Linked DNA regions of Homo sapiens: region 1 is linked to region 2. The links are contacts of gene promoters, found by promoter capture Hi-C in blood cells and fetal thymus (Javierre and others, 2016). All regions are on one chromosome and are shown on one strand. The core of a region is centred on a gene start or on the middle of the fragment in contact, and the rest is flanking DNA. Distances in the headings are between cores, read along the strand shown. Region 1 has its middle 100 kb from the start of LINC03042. Region 2 holds the start of LINC03042 (long intergenic non-protein coding RNA 3042).

Region 1 (2,700 bases), core at 56-2,555, 100 kb after region 2:
ACCACACCCCACCTCCTACCTGGAAATGGTGAGATAATAAATGTTGTTTTAAGCCATCAAGTGTTGGGGTAATTTGCTATGCAGTCAAAGATAACACCGACACAAGGGGAGACTAGTAAGAGATGAGCTCACAGAGCAAATGGGAGCCAGATCACGTAGGATCTGTTGATTATTAAAGCCCTTTGACATTTCCCTGTTGGAGGTGGGAAGCCCTTGGAGGGCTTAAAGGAGAGAAGGGAGATAGGTCATCCAACTTAAAAACCTATTGCCATAAGCCAGGTGAGAAAAGATGATGGGTTGGACCATGAGCATAATAGTCGAGGGATGGAAGTGGCCCAAATCTGAACATATTTTGAAGTAGAGTCAGTGGGATTTCCTGCTGGATTGGATGTGAGGTGTAACAGAAAGGAGTCAAGAATGACTCCAGGTGTTTCAATGGAGCAGGTAGAAGGATGGAGTCATCATCAAATGAGATAGAGAAGCCTGGGGGAAGATCAGGTTTAGGGGAAAAACTGACATGCTTATATGCTAAGTGAAATATGCCAGTCACAAAAACACACATTCTGTATGAGCCCACTTATATGAGGTCCCTAGTGTAGTTATATTTATAGAAATAGGAAGTAGAATGGTGGTTGCCAGGGGTTTGGGCAAAGGAGGAATGGAGGGGGCTTGTTTATTGGGTAAAGGGTTTGAGCTTTGCAAGATTAAAAGAGTTTTGGACATCTGTTTCACAACAATGCCAATGTACTTGATACTACTGATCTGTACTCTTAAAAATGATCAAGCTGGTAAATTTTATGTTGTATACATTTTTTCCATATTTAAAAAAATTGGCCGGGCGTGGTGGCTCATGCCTATAATTCCAGCACCTTGGGGGCCGAGGCGGGCAGATCACTTGAGGTCAGGGCTTTCAGATCAGCCTGGCCAACATGGAGAAACCTTGTCTCTACTAAAACTACAAAAATTAGCTGGACATGGTGGCGGGCACCTGTAATCCCAGCTACTCGAGAGGCCGAGCAGGAAAATCACTTGAACCCGGGAGGTGGAGATTGCAGTGTTGTGAGATCACGGCACTGCACTCCTGTCTAGGTGACAGAGTGAGAATCCATCTCAAAAAAAAAAAAATTAAGACAAAAGAAAAAGTAAGCAAACACTGGCTTTAAAATAAAATGAAGGCTGGGAGTAGTGGCTTAGGCCTGTAATCCCAGCACTTTGGGAGGCCGAGGCAGGCGGATCACGAGGTCAGGAGATCAAGACCATCCTGGCTAACACAGTGAAACCCTGTCTCCACTAAAAATACAAAAAATTAGCCGGGTGTGGTAGCAGGTGCCTGTAGTCCCAGCTACTCGGGAGGCTGAGGCAGGAGAATGGCGTGAACCCGGGAGGTGGAGCTTGCAGTGAGCCAAGATCGCACCACTGCACTCCAGCCTGGGCAACAGAGCGAGACTCCATCTCAAAAAAAAAAAAAAAAGAAGAAGAAATCCAAGCCAGAGCCCTGGGGTACTCAAGTGGGAAGAGGTCAGGGAGATGGGGAGGAACCAGAAAAGACTGATCATAGGGAGCATCTCATGAGGTAGGGGGAAAACTGGGACAGTATGCTATCTGGAAACCAAGTGAAGAAAGCATTTCAAGGTGACAGTGTTGATCAACTACGACAAATGCTCTCGAGGGGTCCAGAAAGGTAAACATTGGCTTGAACAATGTGGAGGTCATTGGTGACCTTGAGAAGTACAAGCTGAGCATCTCAAATCTGAAAATCTGAAATTCAAAGTTCTCCAAGATCAACAATTTTTGGAGTGCCCACATGATGCTCAAAAAAAAATGCTCATGGGAGAATTTTGAAATTTGCATTTTCAGATTTGGCCTGCTCAACCGGTAAGTAAATTGCAAATATTCAAAAATCAGAAAAAAAATCCAAAATTCGAAACACTTCTGGTCCCAAGCATTTGGGATAAGAGATACTCAGGCTGTATAATCTCAGCAGAATGGTAAGTGTGGCAGCCTGAAAGGGTGGGCTGTGAGAGGTTAGGAGAAGGAAAATTGGAGACAGTGAGTGTAGCTAACTTCCTAGGAGCTTTGTTCTAAAGGTGAGCAGAGGCGTGGAGTCAAGGAGGCTTTTGGTTTTGTTTTGAGATAGGTAAAATAATAGCATATTTGGACGTTGACAGGAATGATACAGGAGGGGAGAAACAGGAATGCTGCAGGAGAGAAAGAGGAAAATTGCTGGAGGGATGTCCTTGAATAGGCAAGAGGGGACGTGATCTAGTGCACACACGCAAGAGAGTACACTCCAACCTCAAAATCCCAAAGGTTCCAGTAATCCCCAACTGCGTAGCCAGATTCTCCCCCTACTCTGTATTTTTGCTCATGGTGCTTCCTCCCCTAGAAACATCCTTCTCTCACTGTGGCACACTGAACTCCTGACCTCAAAAGCCCTGCTAAGTTCTATCTTCCCCTCAAAGTCTTCCCTCATCACCCCACGGAGAAGAAGTTTCTCCCTTACCCCCACTGCCCAGAGTTCTTCATCCATGCCCTCTTGATTTTATTTTCTCCCTTGAATTGCAGTTTCATCTCCATCCTAAATGGAAAGCTACCCAAGTGAATGAGTGGGACCTCATCATCATGGTCATCATCATCATCATCACAGTTGTGCAGAGCTTACTATCTGCCAGCACCATGCGAAGTGCCCTATGCCATTTA
Region 2 (2,700 bases), core at 190-2,689:
AATTGAAACAGATAATCCCCAAACCTCAACTTACTAGTTAATAGGGTTAGGCTCTTTACCTATTAAACCCTTTGAGATACTCAATTTGAAAACTGCTAAAATAAATCCCCTACTTTCATTTATTTTTTCATTGTTGTGGGGCAGGAGAAATTGAGCTGTGAAATGGCCACCAGGAAGGTGGCAGGATGACGAGTCAGGAGTCCTGTGTGAGACATCCGCAAACATCTCATAAGCAGCTTCTGAATCACACAGCATCAAGGCTGCCAAAGTGCCTGGCCAATCTTGGACCTAGAGACCTAAGAATGGGTCTCCCTGTGGACTCCTCCTGACCTGGGTGGGGCAAGGCTCTTGGAAAATAGGTCAAATGACTCTCAGTCTAGAACCGTCTGGCCAGAGATGCCCCAACTTTGCCTTTTGGGCTATTCATCAAATCCAGCCTTTAGGACGTGACATCAGGGTTTCATTTCATGGGAAGATCTGGGTGCATTTTAGTTAAAAGAAGTGATGTCATCACATCCCTGCTGAAAAAAGGAAAAAGGACCCACTTTGTGCTGACATACCGAGTCCTGGGCAGGGAAGTCTGGACAGACACCTGGGTCCACACCTGGCTTTTCTACCAGCTAGCTCTGTGACTCTGGGACCATTGTGTCAGCTTTCTCTGCCACAGTTCCTCCCTCTGCAAAACGAAGGGCTTGAAATGCAGGATTCTAAGATTGTGGCCATCTCTGACTCTGATAACAACCCCGTGAGCCTGAAGAATTCAGCACTGCTGCTCCATAGGGGGTTTCAGCAGGAAGCGGGCACAGATGGCTTTCTCTGGAACGTGTTCAGAAATGTGGTGTGTGATGTACGGTGTGAATGAAGCGTGGTGCCCTTTAAACACAGCTTCCCCCTGGGAGTGCTCTGAGCTCCTCGGGTTCTCTGGCTCTCATTCACATTCCACTGTCACTCTGGGCACTGGCAGCCCTCACGTGCTTGTGCACTGAGCACACACACACCCCGCCCTGACTGACACACAATTGGTGACTCACAACTGACACAATCATTACACACATGGAATGACTCAGCGGGGACACTCACATGCATGGGCTCACGCTCACCGTGACGTGTAGAAGTGGCTGTGCTCGTGGCATCAGGCACCCCCACAGCAGCCTTGGTGGAGGCTCTCGCCAGCGGCGTCTGCAAATGATTTGCATTCTTGGCTCTTTGGAACTGCCTGTTCTTTGTCTCTCTGTTCGCTGCTCAACCCTTTCCTTCCCTTCTGTCCCAAACTTGGCTGGTTTTAGTCTCTTGCTCCCAAGCTCCTCAGCCAGCTTCCCGGACTGGCTCAGGCAGTCTCTAAGGCTCCTGCCAACTCCAAGATTGCTTCTAATCAACTCCTCAGCTGGGAGGAGTCCCTTCCCCAGGGGTCTCATTCCCTCCCTGACCTGAGCATCTCTTCCTGTCTTCTTCAGGAAGATCTTCAATATCTGTGCCATTTGAGCCAGCCCCTTTCGCTAGATAAGGAGCACCCAGAGCTAGTCACATGATAGAAAGTGCTGGCGGCTTCTGGAGGGTGGTCTTCAGTGTCTCTGAGGGTGCCCTTTCTCTTTCTGGCAGCCCAGGCAGATAGTAGTGTTGGGGTTCTTGAAAATCATCTTTGGGAGTTGAGCAGAACCAGCTGTTACTGGAGAAGCAGAGAAAAAAGATGCTGCACGTCCCAGCCATAATGGTCTGGGAGGGACCTACCCCAGAGCGGGAACCAGGGTGGGGAAGCAGTGCAGAGGAAAGAGAGGCCTGTGTCCATGGCTGCTGGCTGAGTTCTGATGGGAAGATAGGGGAACACGTCCTGGAGCTGCACTTCCTTGCAATTCATCTTCTGCTTTCAGATTTAAGGTTACTTTGCCTAGAATAGCTCCTGTCTTTCCTCTTTTCCTGGGGGAGCCCTCACACAGGAGAGGGAGTGTGGCAGAGTGTGATGTGAAGTCAGGGGTATAGGTGTAGCCTCTGCTAGTAGCTGTGGTCCTGGGCTAGACATTAACCACTGGAGTCTCTGCTTCCTTGGCTGTCAGATGTCCTAATACCACCTTTCTGTATCCTCTGATGTGGTGGCATAGATCAGGTGAGCTAGTAGATGTGACAGTGCTTTGACAAATTAAAAGTGGCACACAAATAAAAGTGAGAATTTGAACAGCAGCGAGGAGATGGTGGAGGGGCTGCCCACAGAATGTCCTGAGGGTCTTTGAGGGAGACCTGTAGATTCCCCTCCTGAATATGGGGTAAAGTCCTTGCTGGAATCCCAAGGCTGGATCAGGACCTCCTTTGACTCCGGCACCAGAGGCCCAGACAAGGACTTGCTAGGCCCCTGCTCTGGACCCAGCTGTCATTAAGCTGAGTGTTTTCCTGGAGAGAGGAGAAGGGGTCCTTCCATGTGGATTTTCCCTAAGTATAGATGCTGGCCCAGCAATGCCAAGAACTGAGACACCCTGTGCCTAGCTCTTGGCTGGCTGCTTATAGCTTGAAATGCCCTTTTCAACTCTGAAACTTTTAGAGTCTGGCAATCCTTGAGAGCGTTTTTTTCCTCCTGCTTGGGTGAGAGCTTTATCTTTGACCTCATTCTATCCATCTGAAGAACTAGAATCCAGAGGGAATGACCTTGCTTTGGCAGACCCGAGTCTTCGTCTCTCTGCCTCAAGTCCTTGCCCTGTGAATATCCTCAGC

The links. Contacts are between HindIII fragments. The CHiCAGO score rates a contact against its expected background, and 5 or more counts as called.
Region 1: a contact is called between a fragment that was not itself captured here and the fragment with the promoter of LINC03042 in region 2, in 1 of 17 cell types (M1 macrophages). The highest score is 5.3, in M1 macrophages.

What each region holds. Positions count from the first base shown.
Region 1 is chr8:38,629,086-38,631,785 of GRCh38, forward strand. No RefSeq gene overlaps it. Among named protein-coding and RNA genes, the nearest start is that of LINC03042, 100 kb to the left of the region's middle. The HindIII fragment of the contact is 2,809 bases long and covers 1-2,700 here.
Region 2 is chr8:38,527,223-38,529,922 of GRCh38, forward strand. LINC03042 (long intergenic non-protein coding RNA 3042) reads right to left here and starts at 1,440. Exons shown (of 3, transcript NR_167676.1): 1 at 1,101-1,440. RefSeq lists enhancers at 183-1,150, 407-1,606, 989-1,283, 1,045-1,094, 1,151-2,118 and 1 more. The HindIII fragment of the contact is 18,415 bases long and covers 1-2,700 here.